Linked DNA regions of Homo sapiens: region 2 is linked to region 1. Evidence: promoter capture Hi-C in 16 types of primary human blood cells and fetal thymus (Javierre and others, 2016). All regions are on one chromosome and are shown on one strand. Each heading gives the region's core, a stretch centred on a gene start or on the middle of the fragment in contact. The rest is flanking DNA. Distances are from core to core; before and after follow the strand shown. Region 1 holds the start of FFAR4 (free fatty acid receptor 4). Region 2 has its middle 22 kb from the start of SLC35G1.

What was found. Contacts are between HindIII fragments. The CHiCAGO score rates a contact against its expected background, and 5 or more counts as called.
Region 2: a contact is called between a fragment that was not itself captured here and the fragment with the promoter of FFAR4 in region 1, in 2 of 17 cell types (total B cells and neutrophils). The highest score is 6.8, in total B cells.

Annotation. Positions count from the first base shown.
Region 1 is chr10:93,561,932-93,569,263 of GRCh38, forward strand. It overlaps FFAR4 (free fatty acid receptor 4), which reads left to right and starts at 4,734. Exons shown (of 3, transcript NM_001195755.2): 1 at 4,734-5,356. The coding sequence starts at 4,790. RefSeq lists an enhancer at 4,136-4,974. The HindIII fragment of the contact is 8,015 bases long and covers 1-6,960 here.
Region 2 is chr10:93,868,786-93,876,117 of GRCh38, forward strand. No RefSeq gene overlaps it. Among named protein-coding and RNA genes, the nearest start is that of SLC35G1, 22 kb to the right of the region's middle. The HindIII fragment of the contact is 4,424 bases long and covers 1,569-5,992 here.

The DNA.
Region 1 (7,332 bases), core at 3,484-5,983:
AAAGAAAGAAAGAAAGAAAGAAAGAAAGAAAGAAAGAAAGAAAGAAAGAAAGAAAGAAAGAAAGAAAGAGAGAAAGAGAGAGAGAAGGAGGGAGGGAGGGAGAGAAAGAAAAGAAAAGAAAAGCATACACAGAGAAAGTCCCCTGTGCCCCTCTCCCCTCCTGTTTGGTTGGAAATGTAAAGAGGTACAGAAGCCACCTGCAATGTTGGCTTTCTCTTTAGCTTAGAAACGAGACTGTCCAGATTTACGCTTGGTAAATCCTTGTCTCAGTTTCTATGGCTTTATCTGAGAGTGGAAGAGGTAAAGAACTAATACCATGGGCAATAAATATGACTTTCACAGTGATGGATCAGCCAATGGGTATCTACTGTCCAGTCTCCAGGGAATACGTGAAGTCTGTCTACCCTGAGGATGCCACACCCAGCCCTGTGTATGAAAGGGATTTCACGGCTGTGCACATCTGGGGCCCAAACACAAAGCGGAGCCCAGTGGGTTGGTTAAAGGGGTCACAGAGGTTGCAGTGAAACATCTCTGAGAAAAAATGGTAACATTTTTGGCTTTTGCCACTAGATGTGACCCCACGACAGGGTTAAAAATAAGAAGTAAAGTCTTGTGAGGTCTCAAGAGCACAGGATTTCTCAGCCTCAGTACTATCAACATTTTGGGCTGGACAATTCTTTGTTGTGGGGAATGTCCTGTGCATTGTAGGATGTTAGCAGCAGCGTCCCTGGCCTCTACACACTGGATGTCAGTAGCAATCTCCCAGTTGTGACAACCAAAAATGGCTCCAGACATGACAAAATGTCCGAGGGTGGGGGTTGCAGCAAAACCTCCCCCAGTTAAGATGCACTGCTCTAGCGGTTCAGAGCAAAGACTCCGGAGTCAGACTGTCTCGGTTCAAATCCCAATGTTTGCAACTTGTAGGGGAATTGAATGAGTTAACAAACACAAAGGAAGGATGGCCATATACTTTATCCTCCAAACCAGGGCAATTTGAGAATGAAAAAGGTTCTAATAATAATTTCATAAACTGGTGCTGGCCATGGTGGCTCATACCTATAATCACAGCACTTTGGGAGGCCAAGGTGGGAGGATTGCTTGAGATCAAGAGTTCAATACCTGTCTGGGCAACATAGCGAGACCTCACCTCACAAAAAATAAAAAAAATTATCTGGGCATGGTGGTATGCACCTGTAGTCCCAGCTACTCATGAGGCTGAGGCAGGAGGATCACTTGGGCCCAGGACTTCAAGACTGCAGTGAGCTATGCCCATGCCACTGTACCCAACTTGGGTGACAGAGTGGGACCTTGTCTCCAATAATAATAATAATAATAATATCATAACTGGGACTGTCAGCAAGCAGAGTTGTGTCCATAATCCATATACAGTGTTGACCACAGAGTCTGACCCACAGTGTCCACTCAGTGACCACTGTGCGAAATGCTTTACATTAAGGAACTTCATTTAATCTTCCCCAAACCCTACGAGGTCAGTACTATCACTATCCCCTTTCATATATGGGAAGACTGAAACTCTAAGAAGCTACAGTAACTTGCCCAAGGTCACACAGTGAGTTGTCCTGCCAGGGCTCTGGTCCCCAAAGGCTAGTGCCCACATGGGCTCGGGTACTGCAGGGAAATGGCACTACTCAACACCCATCCGGCTCTGCATGAACTGCTAGCTCTACTAGGTAATTCACAGTTCCAGCATTAGATTCATGACATTGTACCTTACAAAGCTGAGTGTTTAGGAGTTGCTGTGATAAAAAGCAGGAACTGCATGAAAATCAACATGGAGCAGTGCTCAATATGATTTTGTTTTGAAAAACTGTGCAGAGTACAACAAGTGCACCCAGCCCATCAGGAAGCTATTGTTGTTGGTTTTTTAAAAAAAATTTTTTGAGACAGGGTCTTGCTTTGTTGCCCACATTGGAGTATAATGACCATAGCTCACTGTAGCCTCGACCTCTCAGGCTCAAGCCATCCTCCCACTTTAGCCTTCCAGGAAGCTGGGACTATATAGGTACAAGCCCCCATGCCCAGCTATTTTTTTTTTTTTTTTTTTTTTTGTAGAGATAGGATCTGGTTATGTTGCCCAGGCTAGTTTTGAACTCCTGGGATCAAGTGATCCTCCAGCCTCAGCCTCCCAAAGTGCTGGGATTACAGGGGTGAGCCATTGCACTTAGCCTCACTATGGTTATTTAAGAATGAAACAACAAGCCGGGTGAGTGTAATCCCAGCAGTTTGGGAGGCTGAGGTGGGTGGATCATTTGAGGTCAGGAGTTTGAGACCAGCCTGACCAACATGGTGAAACCCCATCTGTACTAAATTATAAAAATTAGCTGGGTGTGGTGGTGGGTGCCTGTAATCTCAGCTACTCGGGAGGCTGAGGCAGGAGAATCGCTTGAACCCAGGAGGCAGAGGTTGCAGTGAGCTGAGATGGCACCACTGCACTCCAGCATGGGCGACAGAGTGAGACTCCCTCTCAAAAATTAAAAAAAAAAAAAATGAAACAATAAAATTTTTACCCCAATTTATATGTATTATTATTTTCCAAGATAGTTACTAAGTTGTTAGGACATAAAGTCTTATTAAGTTGTTTGGACCCAACTACTTAATAAATGAAACGTTTCTGTTTGGTTTTTCTTTTTGCCTAGGGGTGCCATGAAGGTGCAGTGAATGGAGAAAGTTTATGAGCCTCTGCACTCAACATTTTGCCATTGGTAGAACCCAGGAGGTTAATGTTGGAGAAGGCCTTTTAGTGCAAAGAGCCCACCCTGGTTGTACATTCTAGGGAAACCTCTCTGTGTCTATCTCATCACATCAGCCTGTGATGTAATCAATCTCTCTCCGTCTCTGTCTGTGCTTTTCCCTCTTACTTTCTCTCTCTCTCTCTCTCTCTCTCTCTCACACACACACACACATACATATACCTATAGTTTCCTTTCCCTCACACAAACACTAATATCCCCTGACCCTAATCAGACAGTTGCCAAAACCCCATTTGTCTGAGTTCCCTTTATTTCAATTTTTTGCCCTTTTTCAACTGTTTCAGGAAGCAAACCAGTTCTGTTTTTCAACTTGAACCTAGTCAATGTTCAAGCTGAGCATCTACTTCTCAGGTTAGAAGTCACATCATCAGCTCAGACCTGTTTGATACCGTGAAAAGCAGACACACAAATGGACCCCCTCCCCAGACAGTACTTCAGACTCTGGCGCAACCAGCCTGAAGTACTCAGGTTTCTTTCTTTCTTTCTTTCTTTTTAAGATGGTGTCTCGCTGTGTGGCCCAGGATGGAGCGCAGTGGCCTGATCTCGGCTCACCGCAACCTCCACCTCCCGGTTTCAAGCAATTCTCCTGCCTCAGCCTTCCAAGTAGCTGGGATTACAGGTACCTGCCACCATGCCCAGCTAATTTTTGTATTTTTAGTAGAGACGGGGTTTCACCACGTTGGCCATGGCTGGTCTGGAGCTCCCGACCTCAAGTGATCCACCCGCCTTGGCCTCCCAAAGTGCTGAGATTACAAGCATGAGCCACTGTGCCCAGTCAGTGCTTAGATTTCTTAAGACCCAACCTTAAGAAAGACAATTAGAAGACAGAGTGGGCAACTGGGAGAGGCCTGGTAATATGGCAGAGGGAAGAGGGGGTGAAGGTGTGGGTGGCAGGAGGGTGGCTGGTTGGGGAAGTGGCCACTGGATCTTAGGCCACAGGCATACTTTTCCATCTCCAGCTTCCTCATTTACAGAAAACGAGACTGCAGTGGTGTGATGGAAATGTGTGGGACGGGGACAGGTGACTGGCTTTCATTACTAACCAGAGGACAGCTTAGACAAGTCACTCTGGCTGGGCCTCAGTTTCCTTATCTCTAACGGGACTGGATTGCCCAGTGCTCCTCAAACTGTGGCACCTGGGGCACATTCATAGCTTGTGTGTGAATCTGCCAGCCTTGAAATATCTGTCTTCCTTGGATGGCAAGTTTATTAAAAATTTTGGAAGGACTCACTCTTTTTATAAGAAAGCATTTATGTCATTGTTCAGAATGCAAAATGTATATGCATTTTAGTTACAATAACTAATATTTGATAACATTTAACGAGTAATTACTGTGTGCCAAGTGTGCAAAACTCTAGGTGAGCCTCACAATAACCTAATGGGGTATTATTATTCCCATTTTATAGATTAAAAATCTGGGGTAGAGGGAGTAGATAATCCACCTAAAGACCTGTTATTAAGTAGTGATAAAAGATCTCCACTCCCTCTCTCCCCCACAAAAAATATGGACTCATTACAAGTTGTTTTAGGATCTACCTCCAGACCCATGGAGTTTCTTTAGTAAAGCCTGAACGACACAGGCCAAAATAATCTCCAAAGGCCAGCTCTGACCCTTTTAAATCAATTTTAGCTAAATCCGTTCACAAAAGGCTTCGCACATCCAGTGTCCCTGAAAAATAAAGGAGGTTGGGCAGGCCCTGCGGGGGCTCGAGGAATTCGCTAAGTGAGTTTTCTGGCTTCTGGATACACTTTCAAAGGGCCAGAGGGCACGAGGCTTCCGCCTTGGCCGCCACCTCCCCGGCCAGCTGCGGTGTTCGCGGCCAGTGTTGCCGGGCACTTCCTGGTTCCCGCGCGCCCCGGGTGCAGCTCCCTGCACCCAGTGCTGGCGCTCCTCAGAAGGGAGGGGGCCAGAGGCGAGATGTCGCAACCGCCTCCCTCCCTCTTTCCCCGCCTTGGCACTCAGTCGCCTCCCAGATGAGCACTCTCTCAGACCGCTGCGGGCCGCCAGGCGCCGGGAATGTCCCCTGAATGCGCGCGGGCAGCGGGCGACGCGCCCTTGCGCAGCCTGGAGCAAGCCAACCGCACCCGCTTTCCCTTCTTCTCCGACGTCAAGGGCGACCACCGGCTGGTGCTGGCCGCGGTGGAGACAACCGTGCTGGTGCTCATCTTTGCAGTGTCGCTGCTGGGCAACGTGTGCGCCCTGGTGCTGGTGGCGCGCCGACGACGCCGCGGCGCGACTGCCTGCCTGGTACTCAACCTCTTCTGCGCGGACCTGCTCTTCATCAGCGCTATCCCTCTGGTGCTGGCCGTGCGCTGGACTGAGGCCTGGCTGCTGGGCCCCGTTGCCTGCCACCTGCTCTTCTACGTGATGACCCTGAGCGGCAGCGTCACCATCCTCACGCTGGCCGCGGTCAGCCTGGAGCGCATGGTGTGCATCGTGCACCTGCAGCGCGGCGTGCGGGGTCCTGGGCGGCGGGCGCGGGCAGTGCTGCTGGCGCTCATCTGGGGCTATTCGGCGGTCGCCGCTCTGCCTCTCTGCGTCTTCTTCCGAGTCGTCCCGCAACGGCTCCCCGGCGCCGACCAGGTGAGCGCCCCTCTGTGTGTGCCGGGCAGGTGTCCTGCGCAGGCTGGGAAGCGGGGCCCCGACGGAAGCTGGGATGAGGATGATCAAGAACAACAATAGCCATTTATTGCACTTAATCGTTGTGCCAAATCTTGTGCCCATGGCTGTGAAGTTTAATCTCTTAAATCTCACTACAACGCTGTGCACACGCCCTCCTAAATGATGTAAGTGGAGTCCCCCAAATTCTTGCAAAATGCAATGACTGTTGCGAGGTTAATTAACGAGTAGTTTAGGAGCGAGACGGAACTTTGGGGGTGCAGGGTGGCCAAACACTTTGTATTGAATCATGATTCCTCGCCAGGTGCTACAATACTGTTATTATCACACCCATTTCACAGATGAGAACCAGAGGCACACCGAAGTGTATAATAACTTGCCCAGAGTATTTTATCCGTAATTCGAGGAGGAGATGGGCTCCTTCCAGAAGTTTACCCGTAATTCAAGGAGGAGTTGGGCTCCTGTCCAGGGTTGGGTTATGGTCCTGCTTTGAAAGCGCGCGGACAGGCATGTGAGACCCGGGGACCCCAGATGCAATGCTGTCTTTAGGGGACTTGTGACAGAATTCCCTTCCGGGGTCTTCAGTTTTTTCAGCTGCAAAACGGAAGGATTACACTAGACCTTCGAGGTGTCCTGGGCGCCTGAAATGTGCAGATTACAGAGGCTGGACCGACGAGCTCTGTTTTACATAGCGGGTCAATAGTTGTCATTATTAGCTCATAGGGGTGGGAGTGACCATGATCGGAATAAGGTTCTGCGGATAGTGCAGGACATTGGCTCTGTTCCCCTCAAGTCCCGCGGTCCGGAATCCCGAGCTCGGGTCTTTTTCTCTTGCCGCTTTGCCCGGTGGTTGCAGGGTTCGTGCGCCGGGATCCACACGGAAGAGGGAATCTAGACGCGGAGTCACGGTGGAGGACAGTGGCCGCCGTCTGGCTGTCTTCCCAGTGTGTTTGGTTCTCCATGCCTCGCGGAGAGAGATAGAGAAAGGACTTAGGTCTGTGCGCTGGGGGCTCAGCCTCCAGGAGCTTCTGCCCGTGGCTGGGTTCTTGGCCTCCCCTTCCCTGCCGGGGTCACTGGTTTTCCGGCCTGGAACCCCCTACCCTTAAGCTCCCTCTCCACCTAGGAGTGAATATGGGGCGCCCTGAGTAATCGTGGCACAAACAGGAATCACGGTCCCAAAGAGGGACCTTCGAAGTGGTCAGAGAGGGGAGTAGGGAGGGAGAAATGACATGTCACCAGGGGAAGGCTTGGTTATGGAGATGCACACAGCCCACCAGGGACACCCCCTGACTGTGTGACCCTCCAGAGCCTGAGACAGAGAGGTGGAGCTTCTCTGGGGGTTTTCCCAGACCAGTCTCTCACACAGCCCTTTTATTGGGGGTAGGATGGATGGAGTCTGCCTCCTGTATCCTGTGCGAGATTTTTTTTTTTAAACATAAATCAAACTTAAACACTTGTTTCTAATGCTTGTGTGGAATACATTGTGGGGTGTTTGTTTGTTTATGAGCTTGAATGACTAATAGGCAGGAGCCCCATCAAGCCTGTGGCACTTGATCAAATAACATGCAAGCTTGTGGCCATGTCCACTCAAGTGGGGCCCAGAGAAGCCAGGATTAGCTGAGCTGGTGGGTGCCATTTATGGGCAGACCAAGGGCTCTGGCTTAGTGGACAGGCTTGTTCTTAGCCCACACACACCTGAGAATCAAGGTGGGCCACGCAGATGCCTCTAAAAGCAAGGATCAGGAGGGGGCTGGGCTTCTGCCATCAGTTTCTTTGATTTTTTTAAAAGTTATTCTCTCAGTGAGTCACAGTACTTCTATATTTCTCACAGAACTTGAGGTATTTCACCTCATTTTCTTTCTTACAGGAGAAAATGATGTTCAGGGAATGAAAGACCAGATAGAATGTATCTTGAAGGTATCTTAAGTTTTCAGATGTGT
Region 2 (7,332 bases), core at 2,531-5,030, 310 kb after region 1:
TTCTCCTCATTGTCATACTACAGTCTTTTCATTCTCACACATTAGTATCAAAGCAGGAAGTTGCTGGTGGGAGAAGAGGTATATGTATAAGGAGACTAGTTTTTTTTTTTTTTAACTAGGGAAGAAAAATCTTCCCTGAAAGTCCAGAAAAATCACATCTCCTTTCACCTCATTGGCCAGACTCAGTCACATGGAGCTGGGAGAGAAACTGAGAAACTGAAAATTTGGTTTCAGGCTTTCAATCAAAGGAGAAGAGAGCCAGGAAACACTGTTGGGTAGGTAGATAATTAATAGAACATACCATAGATGAAGATATGGCCCAGACTACCTAGTTAGCATATTCTATCCTCCAAGTCATAGCATGGGTGCATAGGTGGACACATAATCCCACATGGCTCCTTGAACATCAGAAATATGATAGCCACCTTGCCACCATTAGCAAGAAGCCTGTCTGAGAATGATGTCTCCACAGGAAGCAGGAGTGGAAGGCAAAGAGTAGCATATTCTTGCTGATCTCACTTGAGTGCCTTGTCATTGACATGCCCGCACCAGCTATACTTCTTGGACCTGCTGGTAATGTGAATCAGTAAAATCCTTAGTCCAATGTGGTTAGATTACCACTTTAGTGACCTCCAATGAACCAGGCCTCCTGGTATTCATACCTTGTGTAGCCTTCTGTCCTTGAATCTGGGCTGACCCCTTGCCTCTCTTTAAACAATAAATTGTGATAAAGATGACGGCGTGCAAGTTCTGGGCATCAGCCTTCAGATTTCAGCTATGGCACACTTGGAAACCAACCACTGCAGAAGTGCAACTACCCTGAGACTATCATGCTATGAGAACAAGCTAACTATGTAGAAAGGCCTTGTGAAGGACCAAGGACCCCAGCTGACAGCAAGAACTGAGACTCCCAGCACAACCCCACCAGCCACATGAGTGAGCCCCCCTGGAAGTGAGACTTCCAGCCATAGTTGACAAGCTTTCCCCACTGAACCCTGCCCAAATTGCAAATAAACAAAATGCTAAGTTATGGAGTGGTATATTCCAAAATGCTAAGTTATGGAGTGGTATATAGCAATAGATAGTTAAAATACTCAGTTTGAGTAGGATTCCAGTGTCATTTGCTGCTGAGAGGGTTTTAACGGAAACACCACCCATGTAGTCTTAGAGAAATTATAATATCTGCCTGCGATTCAGTTTCTTTAGCTGTACAAAAGCTGTAGTTGACATTCAGGATACATTTAATTTTCTTCCAGTCATTGGGTTGTTTTGGGATTAAATGAAAGAATGCATCGAAAAGAACTAATAATGCTAAGGATTCTGACTGACTCCCAGTGACCACTGCTTCCCTACTTGCTCCATTGAAATCCAGTAATTGTCTTAATTGTCTCCAGCATTGCCGTGATCTTCCAGCTTCATAATTCATCAAAAAAGGAATAAAATTAATTCAGCTAGTGAATTCTTGCTGACTCCCAGTGACCACTGATTTCTCAAGTGGGTAAAAGATTCATTAAATGAAACTTCCAGACTTTTGGCATGGATAGACAAAGCCATAGAAAGCTATGCAAAGCTTATTTTTTCATTCTTGCATTTATTTCTTTGTTTATTCCTTGTCCATCTCTTTCATACTTCCTTATCCCATCCCACCTCCCTCCTCTACCTGTTACCCCCAGACTAGATAAAGTTTTTCTGGCCTGAGCTAGTGAGTAGATTGGCTCTGCTTGGTTCTAAGAGTAAACTTCACCCTGCTTCTCTCCTGGGATGCCTAATCATAGGAGAGGGGAAGAACAGAAATCCTAGATAGGTTTGGGGTTCTAAATGCAGGTGGGATTTAAGCTGCCTCTCTCCAGAAGAGCCCAAGAAAGGCAAACAGTAGAAACTCTATTTGGGATTCTGAGCTCAGGGAAGGGACTATCGGCTAGACTGCAGACTATAAATAGCTATGGTGGCCTGGGCCTGAGACATCTTCACTGGGGGTTCCCTATACCCAGCTAAGTATAGGGACAATAGATAATCTCCCAGAACAAATACAGTCCAGACATGGTGCAGGACAGCAAACACCTCATAGAGTTCCTGTGGGTCTGGTATGATGTGGAGCACCAAGAATCCCAGGCTCCTAAGAAGGTGCCCGGGTGAGTCAAGAGAGCCTCAGACCCAACAGAGTGCAGTGTTCAGGAGGAGGGATTGAGATGGAACAGGGACTCCTCTTAGAGGCCTGCAGCTGCACCCCAGCCTGAGCCTGGAAATAAAAAAAGTCTGAGTTCCTTCAAGAGAAATTCCAGGCATCTAGCTAGCCTTAAGAAGTACATAAGCAACTTGCTAAGCAAGAAAGTAATAAATAAATAGCCAAGGAAGTTAGAGTCATGAGATGTTTTGTTCCCTATAGAAATAAAAAAATAACATCTTTTTTTTTTTTTTTTTTTTTTGAGACGGAGTCTTGCTCTGTCATCCAGGCTGGAGTGCAGTGGTGTGATCTCAGCTCACTGCAAGCTCCACCTCCCGGGTTCACGCCATTCTCCTCCCTCAGCCACCCTAGTAGCTGGGACTACACGCGCCCTTTACCACGCCCGGCTAATTTTTTATTGTATTTTTAGTAGAGAGACAGGGTTTCACCGTGTTAGCCAGGATGGTCTCCATCTCCTGACCTCGTGATCTGCTCGCCTTGGCCTCCCAAAGTGCTGGGGTTACAGGTGTGAGCCACCGTGCCCGGCCAAAAAATAACATCTTAACATATGTCCGTGAGTTGTTCTTCAGAAACCTGACAAATGAACCCACTGGCATGTAGATGGCCGTTCTTTGTTCTGAAGTTCTTCCTAAGGGGCCTGGAGGAAGTCACATCCATAAGCCAGAGCTAACATTCTTGTCTGCTGATTCCAAATGTTTAAACAAAGCTCACCTTCCTTAACTAGCTACATATCAGAGAACCTTCGACTCTACCTATGACCTGTAAGCCCCATGCTTCAAGATACCCCACCTCTTTAGGTCAAACCAATGTATAACCACCATATATTGATTAATGACTCCTGTAACCTCGGCCTCCCTGCCTTTAAAACCCTTTACCTGTAAGCCATAAGGGAGTTTGGGTCTTCCCAATTCTCCTTGCTTGGCACCCTGCAATAAATGCTTCACTTTCTTTTTTTGCAATCCTTATGTCAGTGCTTGGCTTTGCTATACCAGGCAGGCAGACCCAAGTCCAGTTTGATAACAGAATGACTCAGCTGGGATTATGTGTATTAACAACTAAAGACCAGGTGGGAATGAGGACTTGCTAGGAGATGCCAGTAAACACCAATCAGGAATTCCAGCTGCCCCCCTACTACCCACCTCCACCACCATTACCAGTGCTAGATACTAAACTCTGGTGCAACACTAGGAAACTGGGAATCCCTGGGAAAGTGGGAATCCCTGATTGACTAAGATTAAATGGCTACCACTGAAATCAGAAAGGGGGCTCATCAGAGAAATTAAGTTCATTTGTAGAAAACTACATTTTTGTATTTTGCATGCCTGAGTTTGTGCATCAAACTAAGATCTGAAAGATGTATAATAATTAGGGATCAGTCTAATGTATAAGGAGAGGAAGAGAATTCCAGACAAAGGGAGGAATTCCTGTTTTCAGAGAATTACATAGTACATCTGAATAACACCCCATCCAAGAGGGTTGGTTGGTTTGTATGTTTTTAATGCCATCACAGGGACAATTCCTACAATCTATTGAAACCCAGTGGTTTCTGGTTGGCTAAGACAAACTCTGTACTCTATGCTGTTATTTGCCTGACTCAACCTTGCATAACATTGGGGACCATTTTAAATTACATTGTTTAGATACTGGAGTCTCTGCCTGTTCTTCAGTGAGCCTGTTCGGAGTGAATTGCTCACCTGGCAATCATGTTTGTAATAGACAACCTTGGCAATTATGAATAAGATGGAAAGAGACATCTGGCTCTATTTTAACCAATCAGAGTCTCCCTAGAAGCCAAGTTTAGTGGCTAAGCAATGGCTAGTTATTCTCAGCGTGCAGCTGGAAGTGAGGTGCACATAACTCCAGGAGCTGGGGGTTTTTCTTCCACTCAATAGATAAGTAAAGAGAGGCAGCCTGAAGAGAGTGAAAAAAGAAACAGATGGTCAGGGAGCCCTAGCATCAAGGAACCATCTGGCCCCAGAAAGAAATAAGAGACTGAGAGGGTGGCTCAGCTCCAGACATTTCCTCACAGGCAGACCCTGTATTCCTGCCCTTGGCTTCTGGGACACACCCTGTATGTCCTTACTTACATCCCTGTCCACCCACCCCCTTTCCTTACAATATGAATATATTCATATTCCCAAGTCCATTGTGTTTGGAAACCAGAATCATAGATTACTACATAAAATCTTAACATTTTTGTCTACAAACCCACTGTTTTCTTCTTTTTTAACCTTTTAAAAAATGTTCTTTAATGGCATATAATATTTGTAAAAATTTTGGTGGTACATTGTGATTTTTTATACATATGATGTAGAGCGATCAGGTCATGGTAATTAGCATATCCACATCTCAAACATCTATCATTTCTTTGTGTGAATGTGGGAACATTCAATATCTTCCTTGTAGCTACTTGAAACTATATATTATATTATTGTTCAAGTGAGTCCCATTACTTCCAATGAAAGAGTTTAAAGCTAAGATAATTAGTATTTGTACGCCTTTGTTTTCAGGTGGGGCAGCCAGTAACAGCTACGTGCCCAAGCAATGTTGCAAGATCTCAAGTTAAGATTATTCTCTGTTCAAAATGCATGCCTGTGACTCAGCAGTTTTCTTCTCAAGAGTTCCTGCAAAGTCTTAGTAAATCTCAGCAAACTGCTGCCCTCTCTGTGTTCCCCATTAAATTAGGTTGGCCACTTCTGCAGCCTTACTCTGCCTTGCTTAGGGCACACACAGGTGAGTAAGTCATCGAACACATGAGGATTTAATGATGAAGACTGACCAAGTCTCTGTCCACTCAGAGCTTCTAGCTCTTGGACGACACAGTTAATTAAAGACACAATTCTGTTTAAGTGTTGTTTAGCCTTGGGGGAAGAAAGGATGTCAGAGAGGCACATGGCAGAGGGTGGCTAACTCAGTCAGGGGAGGTCAGAGGGGTAGGAAAGGAAGCGATTTGTCAAGAGGGAACACAATCCTGAAACATTCAAAGTCATCAGTTACATAGAACTTACGGTCTGCCAGACATTGTTCTAAGCATTTTACATACATAAGCTCATTTTATCCTCACATGGTAGTGTGGTAAATACTATTACTAGCCCTATTTTTGTAGATGATTCAAGTTCAGCACAGAGAGATGAGTATGTCAAAGAACACACAACTGGCAGAGGCAGAGCCAAGATTCAAACCCAGGCAGTTTGAATAATGAATGTTTATTTATTCAATTAAACAGCTACAAAATGGAAAAAGCATAACAATGCTTGTTCTCCATCCACCACCCATGTAGGTCATTTTTCTTCTGTTTTTGGTAAATCATACAGCCCAAAATGTCACCATATGGGTCATTTTTATTTCTAAAATGTAAATATCTTTGACTTCAAAATGTATGTCTAGTGTGACCCAACTGTATCTGCACAGTCAATGTCAAGATTTCCAAAAAGAGCATTTTGAGGTAGTTCTGCCATGTTATCATATCCAGATAATAATGAATAGCAATCACATTATTATCAGCAGTGACCTCTACACATCGGGGAGGAGGAAAAATAAACAGGATCATTTCAAGGTTGCACCAGCTGCCAGCTGAAATTACCCCATTAAAGACAACTCCAGAGGAGCAGTTGCTGGGTGACAAGAGATGCTTGTTTACATCAAGTGCTCCTTTTAAGGAAAATCCTTCCACGCACATTTCTATTTCCTTATTTTTAAAATTGATTTTGTAGCTTCAACAGAATATGATTGCTTAGTTAATTCATTTAACAAAATGTACTATAGCAGTTACTTGTGAAGGTATTGAGAGATTAATTCTAGTATGAAAGCTTATCCCTAGACATCCCAGTGCTTGAAAAAAAAAAAGAAAGGAGAAGCTTAATTATTAGTTTGGGTGGTATTTGGCTACATTATATTATGTACTAAAAAGAAGTGGCTGTTTAATGAGTCGAAGATTTCCATTTGAGGTGATGAAATATCTCTGGAACTAGATAGTGGTAATGGTTGCATAACACTGTGAATATACTTAATGACACTGAATTGTACACCTTGGTTAAATTGCTAAATTTTATATATATTATACCACAGACTTAAAAAATGAATATATGTGCACACACGTGCATGTAAACACACACACACACACACAAGCACTCATAATTCTCCAGGGTGACCACAGAAGCATGAGTTGATATGGAGCATCCATCAGCCTGACTGATTATAGCATGACTCAGAATTAAAGTTTTATTGTGTTAAGTTACTTGTCACAGCAGCATAAACTAGCCCATCTTGACTGATGTAAGTTATTATATTGCACTTGGTTCACCTAACCTTTTTTCGATCCTCCTTTGCACAAGGCACTGGGAAAACAAAGATGAAAAGCTTCAAGAAGTTGAAACTAGCAAGAGAGATACATATGTTAACCAAAAGATGCGCTTAAGCATGATGGTGCCATAATAGAGGTAGATTATGAGTTACAATGAAAGTACAAAGGCTGGAATGGCCTAGAAACTCAGAGGAGTGTACTCAAGAGGGAAAAGGTTGAACTAAATTTTAAAAAGGTGTGTAGAAGTTTGCCAAGTAGAGAAAGGGAGAAGTTCTCCCCAGATTGATGAAAGAGCTTGCCCTCTGTGCAATGATACAGACATGAAACAGCCTGGCACGTCACAGGAAATGCCAGTCATCAGACAATAGAGTGTGAGGCGATGAAGATGGACTAGTGCTAGAGATGGACTAGAGAAGTTGGCAGGAGTCTGGAGTTTGGACCAAATCTTGTAGCCAGTCCTTTCTAACCATTCCATTCATACTATACATGGAAAATGAAAACACATCGGGCACACTGGGCTGCAACACACCTGTCCAGCCACGGCCAACCTTGGCACATCTTAATCCACTGCAGCAAATTAGGGCACACCTTACGGTAATTACTACTATGGGTAATGGAGAGTCATTGAAGATATCTAAGCAAGAAAACAATAGGATCAGATTTGCATTCTAAATCATGGTTTGGAAGCTAGATCAGTATGAAAAACTAGATTAAAGTCAGAAAGATCCATGAGGAGGCAGTGGCAACAATCCAGAGATGGCAGAAGCCTAAATCAGAATAGTGGCTGTGAAATTAAAAGAGTGGAAAGATTGAAGAGATAGTTTTAAGGTAGAATTAACAAGCC